2 separate regions of the Homo sapiens genome follow, and region 1 is linked to region 2. The links are contacts of gene promoters, found by promoter capture Hi-C in human tissues and cell types (Jung and others, 2019). All regions are on one chromosome and are shown on one strand. The core of a region is centred on a gene start or on the middle of the fragment in contact, and the rest is flanking DNA. Distances in the headings are between cores, read along the strand shown. Region 1 has its middle 52 kb from the start of ACSF3. Region 2 holds the start of SLC22A31 (solute carrier family 22 member 31).

Evidence for each region. The method cuts DNA at HindIII sites, captures the fragments that hold promoters and counts their contacts. A contact is called where the count stands out against the background at its distance.
Region 1: a contact is called between a fragment that was not itself captured here and the fragment with the promoter of SLC22A31 in region 2, in 1 of the 25 tissues and cell types used here (dorsolateral prefrontal cortex).

What each region holds. Positions count from the first base shown.
Region 1 is chr16:89,040,238-89,044,208 of GRCh38, reverse strand. No RefSeq gene overlaps it. Among named protein-coding and RNA genes, the nearest start is that of ACSF3, 52 kb to the left of the region's middle. The HindIII fragment of the contact is 7,491 bases long and covers 1-3,971 here.
Region 2 is chr16:89,198,020-89,202,057 of GRCh38, reverse strand. SLC22A31 (solute carrier family 22 member 31) reads left to right here and starts at 1,521. Exons shown (of 9, transcript NM_001384763.1): 1 at 1,521-1,580; 2 at 2,242-2,345; 3 at 2,491-2,645; 4 at 2,867-3,035; 5 at 3,261-3,406; 6 at 3,508-3,616; 7 at 3,722-3,936. The coding sequence starts at 1,557. RefSeq lists a silencer at 365-454 and enhancers at 747-1,369, 2,618-3,241. The HindIII fragment of the contact is 13,129 bases long and covers 1-4,038 here.

The DNA.
Region 1 (3,971 bases), core at 273-2,772, 160 kb after region 2:
TCCCCCAGCCCCAGATCGGGCATCAGTACAGTGCTGGGTAGAGGGGGGGCACACACGCTGCCCCCACACCAGGGTGACAGGGGCAGCCGGCAGAGGGTGAGGTCCTGCAGAACCTTTGAGTCAGGGAGAGTAAGCGTCCACTGGGGGAGTCAAGGCAGGCTTCCTGTAGGAGGTGGTATCTTCCCTGGGCCTTGTAGGGTAAGCATGCTTCTCCAAGCGAGGGTGCAGGTGACTGGAAGGTCCTGGGGCCTAGGGCCACACCAGAGACCCTTGGGGAGTCTGGGCCATTTATCCTGACCCGATTTGAGTGAGGGCTTGTGAGGTCTCAGAAGTCGGGAAGGCTTGTGCAGGGCTCGGATGGTGGATTGCGGCCTGTGCCAGCAAACAGCCCAACTGCTCCTCGCCCCTGTCTAGTCTGTGGAGTGGAGAATAATTCTAAGGGTTACTAAGAGGTCTGCAGCGCATCCCCTTGGAAAGGGCCTGGTGCCCCACACCAACCTGGCAATACCGGTTCTCCCAGGAGATGGTTTCCACATCTGTGTTTCTATATAGAAATGATCATCCACCTGCATTCGACACCCCCAGGCACTTGTGAGACCAAATGGGGAGAGCGCATGGTGTTTTGCACGGCCCTGCCCCAGCCCGGGAGGTGCTGGACAGGAGCCACCCGCTGTCATGTCTCCTGATGGCAGCCATGAGGCTTGCACGGGGTCCCCGTGTTCCTGTTGTGCACAGATGCCGCCTGGATGGCAGAGCTCGGCTCCGTCTTCTTCAGGACAGGGAAGGCTCTGCTGCTGGGAGGGGCTGGCATGTCAGGAAGGGCCATGTTGGGGGACGGGAGGGCAGCTGCCGGGGGCTTTAAGCACCCATGGCGGGGAGGGTGGTGGCAGACAGAGAGGGCCATGAGCGGGAATGGAAGGATGTCAGAGGCGGGGACGAGGCTGAGCGAGCAGAGCTGAGATGGTCTCTGCGGGGTGGAGGCCAGGCCGGCCCAGACCTGGCCACTCTCATGGTGACTTTAGGCTACTCCCTTCTCAGTTTCTTGATCTGTAGCTTGAGAGGCCGGTCCCATCCTGAGCCACGGCAGGCATGACGGATCAATCATAGAATCTTCTCCCGCCACCTCACGGGAATTCCAGGACGCCACTGCTCGTCAATTCTCCCTGGCAGTCGGGCGGCCCCTGTTTGCCACCTGGGTTAGATGAGTTCCAAGACGCCCTCATGCCTGGGCCCACTCAGGGCTAATCTATGCCCCCCACACAGGTCACCCAGGAGCCCACGGGCCTCAGCGTTGAAGACCCCACAACGGCTGTCTCCAGTGAATAGGAGCAACCTCAAGCTCTCTCCATGACGGCCGCAGAGCCTGGAGACCTGGTGCAGACCCCTCCTGCTCCCCCCAGCAGCTTCACAGCAACCAGATGCATGGGGTCTGCACCCTGGCAGGCCAGCCCCACACCCATCACTGCACCCTGGCAGGCCAGCCCCACGCCCATCGCTGCACCCTGGCAGGCCAGCCCCGCGCCCATCGCTGCACCCTGGCAGGCCAGCCCCGCGCCCATCGCTGCACCCTGGCAGGCCAGCCCCGCGCCCATCGCTGCACCCTGGCAGGCCAGCCCCGCGCCCATCGCTGCACCCTGGCAGGCCAGCCCCGCGCCCATCGCTGCACCCTGGCAGGCCAGCCCCGCGCCCATCCACACGCCTGGGAAACCCCAGCCACACGCCTCCACCCGCTCCCATCTCAGCAGCACACTGTGACCCAAACACGGGCTGTGGGTTCAGAGACCTGGGTTCCGGAAGTCTAAGCTCAGCTGCTGACTGCCCTGTGACCAACGGGTCAGCCCCCACCCTGCACTTCTGTCCACACATCGTGGCGACCTGCTGGTCACCGGCCACGCCTGGCACACAGGATGTGCTCAGTAAAGCCTGGGCTCGTGAGTGCCACGCACAAGTTCAACAGAGGAAGCTGCAGAGCAACGGCTACGCAGGCCAGGACGGGAGGCCCGGGGAGGCCAAGGGCATGCTGAGGCCAGGACGGGAGGCCCGGGGAGGCCAAGGGCATGCTGAGGCCAGGATGGGAGGCCCGGGGAGGCCAAGGGCATGCTGAGGCCAGGACGGGAGGTCCGGGGAGGCCAAGGGCATGCTGAGCCCAGGACGGGAGGCCCGGGGAGGCCAAGGGCATGCTGAGCCCAGGACGGGAGGCCCGGGGAGGCCAAGGGCATGCTGAGGCCAGGACGGGAGGCCCGGGGAGGCCAAGGGCGTGCTGAGGCCAGGACGGGAGGCCCGGGGAGGCCAAGGGCGTGCTGAGGCCAGGACGGGAGGCCCGAGGAGGCCAAGGGCATGCTGAGGTCTAGGTGGGAGGCCCAGGGAGGCTAGGGGTGCCCGGAGGTCTGGGCGGGAGGGTGGTGGGAATACCAATAGCTGAGCTGCTCTGCAAGTGCTCACAGGCACCCACGGGGGGCCAGCCGAGCACAGGAGTTTGCTGCTGCCAGGAAGACACCGACGTGGCCCAGAACCAGGAAAGCTGCTGCTGCCGTGAGATCAGGGCTGGTGGGGCCAGACAGCGGCAGGGGCCGAGGACACTCCTGGTCCTAGTGCTGGGAAGTCGGAGCCAGGCGCTTCCTCAGTCCCCCAACCTAGCCAGGCTCCCAGGCCAGCCCCTTGCCATGGACGCCTCTGCTAGACGTGAGGACAAGAGGCACTGCTGCCATGGGGCCCTTTCCTGGGTTCAGCCCAGCATGGTTGAGATGTGTCCCTGTGGTGTCAGAGAAAAGGAGGGACGTGCGGTTCAGTAACTGGCCCAGAGCGCCCAGAGCCGCACAGCCAGTGACAGATGCTCATGGACTACCGGCCTCCTCCCGTCCCTCAGGGGATTGCAGGTGTAGGGAAAGGGCATTCCCCGGGGCAGGGGAACTCGAGTGGAGGGCCGGCACTCTGGAGAACTTGAACCCAGGCCGACTCGGTTGCCCTCCCACCTGAGCCGGGAGTAAGGTTGCGCCAAGGAGCAGGCGTGACATCAGCTCAAACAGGAGGGGAGGGAAGGAGCCCCAGCGCCGCATCCCCCCTTGCCCAGGCCTCCCTGGGCTCCTCCTGCACAGGATGGGGTGAGGCCAGGACTGAGAGCAGCCTATGGGCACTGACCGGAGTCCAGGGAGCCCAGCACTCCCTCCATGGTCCTCGCCGTCCGACTGCTGGGATCCACTTGGGGTCAGTGCCCAGTGGGCCTGAGAGCCCCTAGGGCAGAGGACAGACCCACCCCCGCATCATGCCCACTCTGCCACACCCAGCTGGGGGAACCTGGACTCGCAGCTGCCCCTCCGAGCTGTGGGTTCCTGAGGAACAAGGGTCAGAGGTGACCTCTCCCCCTCACCTGTTCCTTTGGAGACTGTGAGATAAAACTGAATGGATTCAGAAGCTGAACCGAGGGCAGAGGCCAAGAGGCTACAGGATGAGTGGGGCCCCGGTGTGTGTACGTGGAGCTGGGCTGTATGGGATGGGTGGGGGACCTGGTGTGTGGACATGGAGCTGGGCTGTAGGGGATGGGTGGGGGCCCTGGTGTGTGGATGTGGAGCCGGGATGTGGTCAGGCTCCCCAGCTGCCCACAAGGGACAGTGCCATTAGGCGGATGCTGCCCTTGGGGAATGGCTTTGGGGTGTCAAGAGGATCTGGCTCTAGCCCTTGCTCCCCCAGGCCAGCCAGGCTGGTTCCCTCTGTGGGGCCTGGACATCATGGGCTGGCCCTGGAGTGGCTGCCGCCTTCCATCCATGAACCAGCTTCATCTCACTGTCATTAAAAACCCAGGTGTCGGCTGGGTGCGGTGGCTCATGCCTGTGATCCCAGCACTTTGGGAGGCCGAGGTGGGTGGATCACGAGGTCACATCGAGACCATCCTGGCTAACACGGTGAAACCCCGTCTCTACTAAAAATACAAAAAAATTAGCCGGGCGTGGTGGCGGGCGCCTGCAGTCCCGGCT
Region 2 (4,038 bases), core at 272-2,771:
CGGCCCCACGCGGGGACCACCCCGGGACGCCGGCCGGAGCCCGCGCGCCCCCGGGCAACCTGAGTGCACCTGCGCCGCGAGGGCACCTGAGCGCTCCCGGCCACGCCCCTGCCACGCCCCCGGCCCCCACGTGCCGCCCTCACGGGGCCCCGCCCCCTCGCGGTTCGGCCGCAAGCCCCGCCTCTCAACCTTCCCGCCCCTCAACCTCCCCGCCCTATGCCCCAGATCGGGCCCCGCCCCTTTACGCCTTAGGCCCCGCCCTCACACCGCCCGCCCCCACACCCCGCCTCCACTGGACTCAGGCTCCGCCCCTTAATGCCTCGCCCCAAAGCCCCGCCCCAGGAGCCCGCCCTGGTCCAGGCCCCGCCCCGTCCCGAGCGCAGCCTGCGACCGATGGAGCAGGAGGCGCGGGTGCTGAGAGCTGCGGGCGGCTTTGGCCGGGCCCGGCGCCTGCTGGCCTCCGCCTCGTGGGTACCCTGCATAGTGCTGGGGCTGGTGCTGAGCTCCGAGGAGCTGCTTACCGCGCAGCCCGCGCCCCACTGCCGACCGGACCCCACGCTGTTGCCCCCAGCGCTGCGCGCCCTGCGCGGACCCGCGCTGCTGGACGCCGCCATCCCGCGCCTGGGGCCCACGCGAGCCGCGAGCCCCTGCCTGCTCCTGCGCTACCCCGATCCCGCGCCCTGCACCCGCCCCGGGCCCGCGCCCCGCGCCCGCACGCAACGGCACCCGGCCCTGCACACGCGGCTGGCTCTACGCGCTGCCCGGCGCCGGCCTCCTGCAAAGCCCGGTCACCCAGGTGCGCCCCCGTCCCTGCTGCCCCGCAGCCCTCCCCGCCCCCAGCCCGCCGAGGCCCTGGGTGTCCTTTCTCCATCCTACCTGGCGCCTCTGACCCGGGCCCCCCGGCCGTCCTCCTGGGCTTCCTGCTCCGGGGCGGCCGCCGGCCCGACGGTGCCGCAGACGGGCGCGCACGGGCCGGACCCGCGGAGAGGGGCCGGGCGGGGGCTGAATCTGGGCCTGGGAGCTGCCAGGCGCGGGGCGGCCTGGGGCGCTGGAGGATTGGAGCCGAAGGCGCCGGTGGGGGAGCAGGGCCTGGAATTTGCTTCAGGACCACCAGCGTCTTCAGCAGACCGTGGCTTTGGGCTGGCTTTCCAAGGCAGAGTCTCTGCTTGGAGGGACTGACGTGGTCAGCACAGACTGGGGAAGGTGGGCTTCCCATCAGTGAGGTGCGCAGAGGCTGGGCTAGAGACTGCATTGCCTGAAGGGAAACCTTGACGATCTGCGTGAGAAGAGATGGGGAGGCGGGCGGCAGGGACCTCCAGGCCCCTTTCATGCCTTTCCGCGCTGGGGCTGAGACCTGCACACCCCTGAGGCAGCCTTTACCCCGAGGCCCCCATCCCCCATCCTGGGAGGACTGGCCCCAGTGTGGAAACTGGAACGGGGTTGCCACATCTTCACAAGGGCTGCCTGGGGCCCTGGAACCCGCCGGGCTTCTCTCTCCACCCTGCTCCCTCCCACCTCCCACCTGCCCTCCTCCTGTTTGGTGCCTGGATCCAGGAATGCCCCATCAGCTTTCCCAAAACGTCAGGTTTGAAAGTAAAATCTCGGGCATAGCACGGCCCCCAGCAGTAGATTAAGCTTGCCAAGAAGACCCAGGAACCGGAAGGGGTGGGGGGAGGCGCAGAGCTGAGGTCAAGGGTCAAGGGCCTCACCGGGAAATGCCGCTGAGCACAGCTCTCCAGCCGCTGCCCGAGTCCCTCTTGAAATGGGCAGGGCAGGGAGGGCGTGGGTACCAGCGCAGGTGCTGGGGTTCATTTCTTAGGCCTGTGTCATGGCTATGACCCTTGGCCGGCTGGGGTGGGGGCTGTGTCTATGACGCCACCAAGGCCCTGGGTGTCCCCGGGGTCCCTCGGAATAGGAGGTGGAAACGGGTCGGACAAGAGCTGGCCGTGGGGGAAGAGCAATGGTGTGCGGAGGTGGGGGAGGCCCTATCTAGGGACAAGCAGAAAACTTAGGGTGGGCAGATCCCCCCGACCCCTGTGCAGGGGCTGCCGGAGACCAGAGAGGCTGCTGTGTGACCTGGACCAAGCCCCTTGCCCTCTCATGCCTCAGTTTCCCCTTCTCTCCACGGAGGGATTGAGCAGGACATGGAGGGCCCCTTCCAGTAGCCATTCTGGGACTCCCTGCACCTGTCCCCAGGGGAGGGTCCTGAGCTGGCCTCCACGTGGCTGCTGTTCCCCATAGTGGAACCTTGTGTGTGGAGACGGCTGGAAGGTCCCGCTGGAGCAGGTGAGCCACCTCCTGGGCTGGCTGCTGGGCTGTGTCATCCTGGGAGCAGGCTGTGACCGGTGAGGCCCCTTCCCTTTTCCTGCTGCCCAGCAGCCCTCCCCTCCGCCCACTCTCAGGGTTCAGCTAGACCTGGTGCTGCCAGGATGAAGGTTGGACCCTGGGTTATCCTGACCCTGTCCAAGCATGTCCCCCGCTGCCCACCAGGTTTGGACGCCGGGCAGTTTTTGTGGCCTCCCTGGTGCTGACCACAGGCCTGGGGGCCAGTGAGGCCCTGGCTGCCAGCTTCCCTACCCTGCTGGTCCTGCGCCTACTCCACGGGGGCACATTGGCAGGGGCCCTCCTCGCCCTGTATCTGGCTCGTGAGTACCCTGGGGGCTGCTGTCACTGGGGGAGGGGCAGTGGGTGGCCCGCAGGCCTCTGAGGCTCCCTTGCCGAGGGCCCCGAGCTGCAGGGACAGTGAGCAGTGAGTCCCTTGGGCATCCCGCTCCTGGGCAGGTCACCAATAGGTCCCCGCAGTTCCCAATGGAACTGTTCCAGTCCTCCCCGAGGCCTCCACTTCAACCTGTCTGTGTCTGCCCAGGCCTGGAGTTGTGTGACCCTCCCCACCGCCTGGCCTTCTCCATGGGGGCTGGCCTTTTCTCGGTGGTGGGCACCCTGCTGCTGCCCGGCCTGGCTGCGCTTGTGCAGGACTGGCGTCTTCTGCAGGGGCTGGGTGCCCTGATGAGTGGACTCTTGCTGCTCTTTTGGGGGTAAGTGTGGTGGGAGCTGGGCCAGCAGCCCTCATCGGGGCTGACTATGTAGCTTCCCTCTGCACCGACGTATCCCATGCCAGGTAAACGCATGGGTTACAGGGTCACAGAGAACTACAGTGATGTCCTGCCCCTGAGCCTGGGGGTGGGGTGGGGGCCCTGGCCTTTGCCTCTCCTTCCAGGAGGAGGTGGAGGGAGCCGTGGGCATCCTCACCAACGCTGCAGGTTCCCGGCCCTGTTCCCCGAGTCTCCCTGCTGGCTGCTGGCCACAGGTCAGGTAGCTCGAGCCAGGAAGATCCTGTGGCGCTTTGCAGAAGCCAGTGGCGTGGGCCCCGGGGACAGTTCCTTGGAGGAGAACTCCCTGGCTACAGGTCAGGCGCCTACCAGGGAGGAGGGAGATTCAGGTACTGGAGGAGGGCTTCGGAGAGGCACAGCTCCTCACCCCCCTCCCCTCACATCTCTGCGGCTACAGAGCTGACCATGCTGTCTGCACGGAGCCCCCAGCCCCGGTACCACTCCCCACTGGGGCTTCTGCGTACCCGAGTCACCTGGAGAAACGGGCTTATCTTGGGCTTCAGCTCGTGAGTCGAGGAAGGGCTGGGGTCCTGCACCATCCCCCGGGGTGGGCATATGGTCCCCAGAGTCCCCGGCTCTGGCTGGGCCCATAGATTTGCTCTCTCTCCCAGGCTGGTTGGTGGAGGCATCAGAGCTAGCTTCCGCCGCAGCCTGGCACCTCAGGTGCCGACCTTCTACCTGCCCTACTTCCTGGAGGCCGGCCTGGAGGCGGCAGCCTTGGTCTTCCTGCTCCTGACGGCAGATTGCTGTGGACGCCGCCCCGTGCTGCTGCTGGGCACCATGGTCACAGGCCTGGCATCCCTGCTGCTCCTCGCTGGGGCCCAGTGTGAGCTTGGGGCCCCGCAGGCCATACAGGAGCCATTGTGTTTGGGCCGACGGTCTGCCACACCAGGGGGCCATAGTGCCGACAGGGGAGCAGCCTGGGGTG